2 separate regions of the Homo sapiens genome follow, and region 1 is linked to region 2. The links are contacts of gene promoters, found by promoter capture Hi-C in blood cells and fetal thymus (Javierre and others, 2016). All regions are on one chromosome and are shown on one strand. The core of a region is centred on a gene start or on the middle of the fragment in contact, and the rest is flanking DNA. Distances in the headings are between cores, read along the strand shown.

Region 1 (5,464 bases), core at 2,582-5,081, 1.7 Mb before region 2:
GCAGATTGAAGGCAGGGACATAGTTGGGAGGTGCTGTGGGATTCAGGGAGGGGGCTGAGAGCTGGAACTGAGGCAGAGATACGTGCCAAAGAGAGGAGGGATCAGTTCTGAGAGCTGCAAGGAAGAAGAATTTATAACAGTGATTCTTAAGCACTGGGGGAACGTTGGCCCCAAATAATCTGATGCTAGCAGTTTTACATTAAATGTCAAGCTTGCCAACTTGATCCATTAGCATCAGTGTGACCTCCATGACCAGGAAGCTGGACTGGTCAGCCCTTTGTTGGGCCACTCTTGGTTCTGATGGAACCAGAGATTTTTCTTTTCTGGGGCGAGTTGGGGACAGAGTCTCGCTCTGTTGCTCAGGCTGGAGTGCAGTGGTATGTTTTCGGCTCACTGCAGCATCTGCCTCCCGGGTTCAAGCAATTCTCCTGCCTCAGCCTCCTGAGTAGCTGGGATTACAGGTGTGCGCAACCACGCCTGGCTAATTTTTGTGTTTTTAGTAGAGACGGGGTTTTGCCATGTTGGCTAGGCTGGTCTCCAACTCCTGACCTCAAGTGAGCTGCCCGACTCGGCCTCCCAAAGTGCTGGGATTACAGGTGTGTGCCACCACAACTAGGTAATTTTTTGTATTTTTAGTAGAGACAGGGTTTCACCACATTGGCCAGGCTGGTCTCGAACTCCTGACCTCAGGTGATCCACCCGCCTTGGCCTCCCAAAGTGCTGGGATTACAGGTGTGAGCCACCATGCCCAGCCGCACCAGAGATTTCTTTTTTTTGTTTGTTTTTGAGACAGTTTCACTCTGGAAGTTGCCCAGGCTGGAGTGCAATGGCGCAATCTCAGCTCACCACAACCTCCACCTCCCAGGTTCAAGCGATTCTCCTGCCTCAGCCTCCCCAGTAGCTGGAATTACAGGCATGTGCCACCATGCCTGGCTAATTTTGTATTTTTAGTAGAGATGGGGTTTCTCCATGCTGGTCAGGCTGGTCTCAAACTCCCGACCTCAGGTGATCCGCCGGCCTCGGCCTCCCAAAGTGCTGGGATTATAGGCATGAGCCACCGCGCCCAGCCATTGGAGATTTCTAACCACATCATGCAGGAGGAGGATGGATGAGAAGCAGCATTGATCAGGCACTGGCTACCTATATCACCCACTGCTTCTATAAGTACTCGGCTCAGCCCTCATAGTGATGCTCTGATGCCCATCAAGCAGATGGGGAAACTGAGGCATTTATGCAGTTCAATGTCATACCCCTGGAAAACAGCAGCTATGGGATTCCAGCTTGGGTTTGTGTGAGTCATAACATGACTCTGTCTTCCACCGGTGCTGCCATATTTGGTCCACACGTGAATTGCTGTGATTACCAGCTTTTTTCTTTCCTGGAGACCTTTGGTGGCCTCTATTTATGCAGCTGAAGGAGACACTTACGACCTCATTCCTGACAGTTTTGGGAGCTGACAGCAGAACATTCAAAGAATGACATCAAGTGGCTTTCCTCAGGGTCATTTCCTGCTAGTGATCTCTGCAAAGATCACATTCTTTAAGGATGTGTGGGGGTCAGAAACAGACCCTATTCTGTCAGGCGAGAGATGCCTGGAGCAGCTGTAATGGGCAGACGTGTGTGTGTGTGTGTCTGTGTGTCTGTGTGTGTGTGTGTGTGTGTGTGTGTGTGTGTGTACATCCTCTGTGACATGCTTTGCTGGTGAATACAACCCCTCCTCCCCCGGCCACACTTCGCTAAAAACAAACCAGGTCTGCTGGGGTGCATGACTCATGCTTGAACCGGAGTCTTCACCCTGAGACAATAATTCTCATTTTAAAAGCAAATGCTGAAGTCAACAGCTGCTGGGGTGACTTTGCCTATCTTAATTTGGCTTGTTAGAGACAGCACCTCCTTAGCTGCTTGAAGGAGAACTTAAGTGGACCTTCCATGACTCTGTTCCTTTTCCTATCCAGGGCTCACATAAGAGTTGTCTGCAGCTGGAGACATGAAACAGTGATAGGATTTGGAGTCAGGGTGTCCTGATTTCATGTGTGTGTTCTGCCCTTTTATTACCACACGGTGGTGGGCAATTTACCCACCTGAGCATGAGGTGCCTCACCTGTGGAATGGATGGAACCCTGCTGTATTGGAGAATGTTCACCCATTCAAGATAACGCATGTGAAGCACCTGCCATACAGTAGATGCTCAATCACGTGGATGTTAGCATTGACTTTGTTGCATGTTCTCTGCTTAGCTATCATTTCTCTCTTCCTCCTTTATTTTGCATTAATTTATTTCTGTAAAGGAGGAAGCTGCTGGGCACAGTGGCTCACACCTGAAGTCACCACTTTGAGAGGCCAAGGCGGGAGGATCACCTGAGGTCAGGGGTTCAAGACCATCCTGGGGAAAATAGTGAGACTACCGTCTCTAAAGAAACATTTTAACAAATTAGCCAGGCATGGAGGTGTGCTCCTTGTAGTCCCAGCTACTCGGGAGGCTGAGGCAAAAGGCTCACTTGAGCCCAGGATTTCAAGTTACGATTGTGTCACTGCACTCCAACCTGGGTAACAGAACAAGACCCTCTCTCAAAAAAATTTTTAAAGGAGGAAGTCATCAGTTATGTATATCACACAGATTCACTGGTGACTTTGCCACCTTTTCCATCCCTTTGAAGTTCTGCATCGCCGGTGGGAGGACGTTGGTCAGAGCAAGCAGAGTGTGGAGGCAGAAGCAGAGAGCGGAGGACCTCAACTCTCTCTCTCCCTGGGCTCTGCTCTAACTTGATAAGGGCCCACGGGAACATCACCTAAACTCTTGGGGGCCTGTGTTCATTTGTCTGTAAAAAGAGGGGCTTAAATTAAATGATCATTGAACCCTCCAAGCTCTTGCTGGGCTGTTTCTGGGGGCTCTTCTCTCTGGAGTATTGATTTGAATTTTGGTGCTGAGCCAGCCAGTGCACGAAATACTACCACTTTGCTCAGTCTCGTAGATGTTTTTCTGTATTTCCTATGTTCAGCATAAAGGGGGCCAGCCCACTACTGCCTTTAACATGAATTGCCCTTCGGAGTATGGAGCACGAGGCGAGCAGCGCTTGTCTCCGCTAATAGACCTACACATTTCCAGGAGAATTTTTTTTTTCTCCTTGCTACTCACAACACATCACTTGTTTATGTGAGGGTTTTTACACACAGCTGATTTATAAGGGATTAGATTTCTCTAAAACATAATCTGCGTTGGTTCTATTGGCCAGTTAAAATTGGTATCCCAGCACAGCTTGTTAAGACATTACATATCATTCCTCTTGTTTTTCTCACACTCAGGAATGATAGGTTAAGAAATATGATTCTAGTTCATAAAAGCCTGAGAGGGACTAACTGGGCTCTATTTATGTTTTATCCAAGAATGTGGAATTTGAAGCTTTTCTCAAAGTGAAAGTTGACCCACTGGACCCGTGTGCTTGGGCCAAATATGAGTATGAGAAACATTCTCAAACCTTTTTGGAATCCTAGGCCAGTAGACACTGAAGGGGCCTAAAGGATTTCTGGGCAATTCCTTCTCCTTCTCTCATGCCACAATAATTATTTGCACTTCTTGCCCTTCTTTTAGCTCAAAAGTGAACTCTGCATGAAGCATATTACCTTAGAGAAAATGTTCACTTAAAGAAAGCCACCTGTTCAGGAAAACAAATTGTCCCCAAGAGGCGTGGTGGAACGCAGGTGGGGAATTTTGTCTTCAATAAGGAGAAATTTAAATTCTCTATATTCTTAGAAATTTACCAAATTGGTTGCACTAGGGTTTTTTTTTTTTTTTTTTTTTTTTTTTTTTTTTTTTTGAGACGGAGTCTCGCTTTGTCACCCAGGCTGGAGTGCAGTGGCGTGATCTTGGCTCACTGCAAGCTCCGCCTCCCGGGTTCATGCCACTCTGCCTCAGCCTCCCGAGTAGCACCAGGGTTTTTAATATCCAGTTCAACCGGGAGACATTTGTACTCTGCGAAGGCTGAGGCGTCCGTGTAAATTTGGCCACCAGGTGGCACCAAATGTTTTCATTAGAAAAATTGCTGAGGGAAAGCCTGGTCCGCATTCTCTCTCCTAGTTAAAAGGAAAAAAAAAGAAAAAGAAAACCCTTTAAAGTGAGTGTTGTCGGTTCATTCACCCAAATTCAGGAAGCATGTGCCTTTCTTATTTGCTAGCGCTTTGGCAGTACACTGTGGCAGTTCAGGGTGAGTTATTTCCTTGAAGTTTGTTAAAAGGGAAACATGGATGAAATTCAAGACTTGAAACAAAGCTTTATTGGAGCTTTGCAGGACAATTAAAATCCAGTCTCTCAGCCAACAAACGGTTCCATCAACCCCCTTCTAGGCCTAGCAGGACACAGGATGCCCAAACAAAAGGCAGAACAGGGAGGCATGGCTGGGTTTTTCCTTTTATCATTTGCTGCACAATCTTATTCTTTCAGATCCCAAACCAGCTTTTATGGTCTGGTTAAAATTTTGTTCTGTTTAGAAAAGAGGGTATCCTAAAGCAATCTAACTGAGCAGGGGTTGTTGCAGAGGGACACCCGCCTGCTTTCAGATGTGAGTGCTGCTGGGGATGATGTCTTTCTGCCCCTGCTCATGGTCTCCAGAAGAAAGTGCTGGCACGCTAAAGATAGGAAAAACATTGGCCAATTTATTGCTAAATTTCAATTCTTAAGAAGTGTTTTTTTTTTTGAAGTAAAAGAGGTGTGCATTCATTTATTTATTCATTCATCCATTCATTTGATGAATATTTATTGAGTGTTCACTGTGCCAGGCATCGTATTTAGAAGCCAGGGGAAGAGTGGTAACCAAAACTACGTTCCAGCTTTGGGCTGCTTCTAGTCTAGAGGAAGAAGCAGATACTCGTCAAGCCACTCGCATGAATGTGCATCAACAAGCTGCGGGAGGTGCTTTAAAGGCAAAGATTGCTGTCCCTGGATGTTGTGGAGCTAATGAAGTTGACCTAGATTCGTGGAGTGATGGGAATAGGCAGTGTTCCCTAACGAGGGACCCTGGAGCTGAGATTTGAAGGATGAGGAGGAAGTAATTAGGCAAAGGGATGGGAAGAGGTGAGGAAGATTTAGGCCAGGGAATTGCAAATTCAAAGGCCATGGGAGGAGAGGGAGAATGACAAGTTTGAGTTCAGCGTTTGAGATGCAAGTGTGGAGGGAACTCAGTAAGCGAAGCAGGAATGGATGCAGTTACAGGAGTAAAAGCTCACCATGAGTTCTCCACTTTCCTCTGTGTTTGGTATACTTTTCCTCTGCCAAATGGGAGAAGAAAGGTCAACACACACACACACACACACACACACACACACTCCAAAACTCTATCAATTACCAGATCTCTACTAGTCGCCTGCTTTGATAGGTGGTCTGTGGTATGGTTGGCTTGGAGCCAGTGTCCAAATATTTGAGAAAAGTTTGGGCATTTTTCCCCCAGTACAGTAACCTGTTTAAATGGAC
Region 2 (5,260 bases), core at 1,351-3,850:
CAATTCCTCTACTTATCAAAGGAGAATACCAGACATACTAAAGCAAAGACCGCACAATTGAAGATCAAAGATAAGGTGAGAAATGTTTCAGAAACTTTAAAAGTACTCTATGCAAATAAAGTATTATCTTTAACTACGGTTCAGTTTATTTTACTTTAGTCAACAACAGACCTTATTCAGACTGGCTCAAACTAAAATGTCAATATACAATGCACTCTTAGTATTTCCATAAAAGAAAATCATGGGCTGGGCATGGTGACTCCTGCCTGTAATCCCAGCACTTTGGGAGGCCGAGGTGGGTGGATCACTTGAGGTCAGGAATTTGAGACCAGCCTGGCCAACATGGTGAAATCCTGTCTCTACTAAAAATACAAAAAATAGCCAGGCATGGTGGCACATGCCTGTAATTCCAGCTACCTGGGAGGCTGAGGCAGGAGAATCACTTGAACCCAGGAAGTGTAGGTTGCTGTGAGCCAAGATCACACCACTGCACTACAGCCTGGGCAACAGAGTCAGACTTGGTCTCAAAAAAAAAAAAAAAGAAAATCATGACCAGAGTTATCGCAAATTTACCCAGAAGCAAATTTACCTAGATAATACATGAAAACATATGGGTTCAATAAAAGAAAAAAATACTACTGACTTTCTTAAGAAACCTTTCAAAAACTTCTGACGCTCAGTGAAATATAAATTTGAAAAATCTTTTCTCAAAATACACCATTCTGCTTCACCACATCACTAAAAAATACAGCAAGTAACCAATGCTTCTGGATGTCTTTTAAGAAAATATTTACTTCAGAACATGTGGAGTGATTGAGAACCAATGAGATTAATTTTTAAAAGTACTCACCCAGACGGTCATCTTTTAGGAGAATTTCTAATGATTTCTTTTCTTCAACTCCACGAAACCCCACTTTCTCATAATATACTGAACGAAAGTTTCTCTGAGAGTCCTCAGTCATATTTCATTCTTGGAGGAGACACAGAAAGACAGAAAGGGAGAGAAAGACGAAGGGGAAAAGTGAGTCTAGAAACAAAGAGTCAAGAATTAGAATAATTTTCAATGATGTTCTCCACCTTTTCAATATGATGTACCCTTGCATAGGACCCAATATTAAATTTTTCCTTTAACTCAGTTCTGCAACTATCTCACCTATGCATCTTGGCTAAAAACCAAGATATAAGTTAAAAGTTCTCTGAGCTGATAAAATAGATGGCACAAGGTTTATGCACTAGGTTTCCCACTATACCTATGAGTGCCTAGCACAATAGAACATTCTGTAGCTATTATAAATGCGCAAAGAAAAAAAATAAGTGAAATGGAAGCCAGGCAAGATACGTCAAGCAAATTATACTCAAACAGTATACACTATGATTTCATTTTTTGTTTTTTACAAATTTCATGTATTTTAAAACTTAACACTCTATTCCAAAATGTTAGCAATGGTTATCTTTAGATAGTAGGATTCTAGATGATTTTAATTTCCTTTCTTTTGCTTAGCTACTTTTTTTTAAATGGGCATTTTGTAAAATGAAAAATTAAGTTATATAAAAGTAAAAAGCCACGAGTTCCTCACTTATCTTTCTTTTAAACACAATTCTATTAAGTGTAGCTATCGAAATTCAAAACCCACAACAAATAAATCGCATTAAATTATAACTAGAAGAGGGTAAAGAATGTAGCCAATTGACAGTGATCCCAAAGTCAGAGTTGAAGACGGAAAAACGATTTAAAATCTACCGCAAGAACTCAAAAAGTTCAGTGGTCTCAAGTTCCTTCACAGTAACCTTCATAATACTGGCGGTAATTCATCCAAAAAAAGACCAAGTTAGATTTGGCGTTTCAAGAACAGAAAAGATCTGATGCATTTCCCAAAAAGCACTGCACTGCCTCACCCAAATGCTTCCAGCGTCTGTGCACAAAAGAGTAAATCTTTAGGTTTAAAAACCCTGCGACGTCCCCAGTGAGCAGGGGAGGGCTTCCTTCCTTATTGAAAAGATATCCTCTGAACCGATTCAGTCACAGGAAAGATTAGGATTCGTTTAGAAAATGAAATGCTAAAGGGCTCTGAGCTTTCGGGAGCAGATGTCTTAAAAATAAAAAAGTCAGCAGCATAAAACGCGTAATGAGTGTGGGGATTTATTTTTTTAAAGCATCCAAACAGCTGCATGACGATTTGGTCGGTCCCTGTTGTCTAAGGACACCCATTCTTAGATTGCACTACAATGACAAAGGCGTCCTCTAGGAGGAAATGCTGCAAATAATATCTCCTGCCCATGCGCGTCCACCTGATGGGAAAAGTAAAAACACCCTGGTCCAAGACCCCAGGTCCCATTCTCTCTATGATGGATGCTTCACCTCTAGTAGTGCAAACACACCCGGGTTGAGACTAAGTGGTCCGGGAGAAGCAGAGGAAGCCGTGCCCTGTGCGCTGACCGACCGCCGGGCAGGCGGGCACCGTTGGGGCCCAGGGCCAGGAGGGACGAGTCCTGCGGGAAGGAGGGAGGCGGCGGGGTACCTGGGACACCCGCGCGCGCCCAGACGGCCCGGGAGACAAAACTCAGCGCCGCTGCCGCTGCCGCTGCCGCCGCCGCCGGACGTGACATCAACTCCAGGTCGCCGGGCGGGCGCCGGGCGGGCGCATGCGCAGAGGGCGCGGGCAGGAAGCTCCACCCTCACTCCAGGAAGCTCTGGCTTCGTTTGTGAAACCCGACGGGATGAAGGGCTAGGCTCGCCTCCAGAGTAGTGTAGTTTCTCCCGCCGTGGGCACCCGGCCCCTTGCTACCCCGCAAAATCTCGCGACCATTTACTCTGGCCATCCGAAGGCGCGTGCCTGGGTTGCACTCCCGTGTCCGGCCCTCGAGGTTCTTGCCTAGGGAAGACCCGAGCCCTAGGGCCGTACTTAAGCTGCCTGCGTGCAGGACCCGGGTTTTGCTTTTGCTAATTTCCTCCCCACCCCAGGTATGTGGGAATAGATGAAGACCATCCGAATGAGAAGAAAAAAGGCAGGCAGAGGAGTGCAAGTCTGATTTAGAGCAGGCAGGCTCCCTGGGTTGGTTATTGTAGGTAACTGACTGGTTTTCTGGGCAGGTTGCTGCAGGTTGTGGATTGGAGGTCTATTTTTATATTAGATTTGGCCATTGTCTTAGTATATTCAGCCTCTCAGGTAAAACACTATAACATAGGAGAAAAATGAACGTGTTTTTTTTTTAAAAAAAGATGTGCTAAATGCAAGCTCCTAATTTGTTATTAGTAGGTCTAACAGAACAGAGTTACTCTTTAAAGTAGCTACTAACACTTACAAATGCTTTCTATTTCTGTGCTTGCCTCCCTGGTCCTCGGGCTGGCTGAGCAGCAGTGCCCAAGTAGGTTTTTAAACCGCCAGGGTTTGAGAGAAATCCCCAATGATGGGTATCGTCCCTTTGAAAGTTCAAATCTCTACCAAATAAGCCACACGGATGCCAAGCTTTGAAGGAAACTTAGGACTATCAACAGTGCAGAAGTCCAGTTATAGTGCAGACAAATGTGTGTATAATGGCTAGACAGAACTTAAAAATGAAGAAACGTGTGGTGGTTGAACTCAAACACTGATGCCCCTCCCCACTCCCTTACCACCACCATCTTTAGTTCCTCAGTACTGGGGTACTAAACCTTCCTTGGGTAGTGTTCACATGAGTAAGCAGAGTTCTTCAAGTTACCTTACACAAGTTCCATTTACTTCATCTAAACCTTGGGCCGGTCACTAACTTTTATAATTGCCTTTTCTTGTCTTTAAAATCATCACCAGGGCTGGGCACTTACTGTGTGCAGGCGCTGTTCTATGGACTCAGGATACATCAGCTACCGAAGCAAAGATCCCTAACCTTGTGAAACTGACATTCTGGTGGGAGGACAGATCCAATAAAAACTAAAATAAATAAGTCAATGATGTAGTGTGTTAAAAAGTGATCGGTGCTGGCTGGGCGCCGTGGCTCATGCCTATGATCCCAACACTTTGGGAAGCCGAGGCAGGCGGATCACCTGAGGTCAGGAGTTCGAGACCAGCCTGGCCAACATGGTGAAACCCTGTCTCTAGTAAAAATACAAAATTAGCTGGGTGTGATGGCACACACCTGTAATCCCAGCTACTCTGGAGGCTGAGGCAGGAGAATCGCTTGAACCCGGAAGGCAGAGGTTGCAGTGAGCTGAGATGGTGCCGCCGCACTCCAGCCTGGGCAACGAGAGAAATTCCATTTCAAAAAATATTAATAATAAAATAAAATCATCACCAATGGTGATTATATAGAAGGTGGGAAGGGTTAAATGAGAAAGTATGTAAAGTGCTTGGCATGGTGCCTGGCATGTGGCACAGTAGGGATATATGTGAATTGGCTGTGTCAAGATCAATTAAAAATGCAAAGATGAGTCTCTAAATCATTTTATTTGGGAAAACAGAATTGCAGTTCAGGGCATACACACAGACTGGGGTGGTCTTCAGAACAACAAAGAGATGGTTGGAGGTTTCATTAGAGAAATGTTATGTATTACCTTGAAAGATAGCTCATTGACCCTAAGCAAAGTTTTTAGGAACAGGCAAGCTCTAATTTGTGAGAGAAGGTGGTAAGTAAAACTAGTCTTAGAGTTACAGCAATTCGTTTCAGCAGCTACTGGGTGAAACTGGTCTTCAGGTTATAGCAGGTCACCTTGGCAGCTGGCTTTCAATATAATTCCTGGGCAGGCACTTTGTGCCCCAACTGCTTTCTCTTCTCCCTCATCTCTGGACTCTAATTTAGCTGGGTATGAAGATTACTCCAATTCATACAATCAATTTTCAAGACTGCTGTTCACTGAATGGTGACAGCAATATGGGTGCCTTCAACTGCCCTCCATTCTGTTTTTTGATGAGCTGATAACAGAATATGTGGAAGCTTCCCTAAGAGATAACACTTTGAGACTTTTGTCAACTCTGCAGCCAGAATGAATCTAAAAATATCCCTCTGCAAAAAATCCTTCAGTGGCTCCCCATTTCTCTCAAAGGAAAAACTGAAGTGCTCACAACAGCTTACAACACTTCTCATGGTCTACCTCCTTGTACCTCAGTCTCAGCTACTATGAGTGACTCCCCTGCCTTGGGACCTTCTCATGTTCCCTCTGCCTGAAACACATTATCCTCTGCTAGCCACATGGCCCACTCACTTACCTCAGTCTCAATCAAATGTCCCCTCCCTGAGGCTACTTTCCCCACCCTACCTAAAATTGCAACACTTTACCTGAATCCCA

What was found. The method cuts DNA at HindIII sites, captures the fragments that hold promoters and counts their contacts. A CHiCAGO score of 5 or more calls a contact.
Region 1: a contact is called between a fragment that was not itself captured here and the fragment with the promoter of TBC1D7 in region 2, in 1 of 17 cell types (total CD8 T cells). The highest score is 7.0, in total CD8 T cells.

The regions. Positions count from the first base shown.
Region 1 is chr6:11,651,748-11,657,211 of GRCh38, forward strand. No RefSeq gene overlaps it. Among named protein-coding and RNA genes, the nearest start is that of TMEM170B, 120 kb to the left of the region's middle. RefSeq lists a silencer at 3,927-4,096. The HindIII fragment of the contact is 867 bases long and covers 3,399-4,265 here.
Region 2 is chr6:13,325,937-13,331,196 of GRCh38, forward strand. It overlaps TBC1D7 (TBC1 domain family member 7), which reads right to left and starts at 2,601. Exons shown (of 8, transcript NM_016495.6): 1 at 2,360-2,601; 2 at 851-970. The coding sequence starts at 962. TBC1D7-LOC100130357 (TBC1D7-LOC100130357 readthrough) reads right to left here and starts at 2,601. Exons shown (of 9, transcript NM_001318809.2): 1 at 2,520-2,601; 2 at 851-970. The coding sequence starts at 962. It overlaps LOC124901261 (a long non-coding RNA gene), which reads left to right and starts at 2,679. Exons shown (of 2, transcript XR_007059457.1): 1 at 2,679-2,962; 2 at 3,789-3,921. RefSeq lists a silencer at 2,417-2,806 and an enhancer at 2,440-2,946. The HindIII fragment of the contact is 4,199 bases long and covers 1-3,465 here.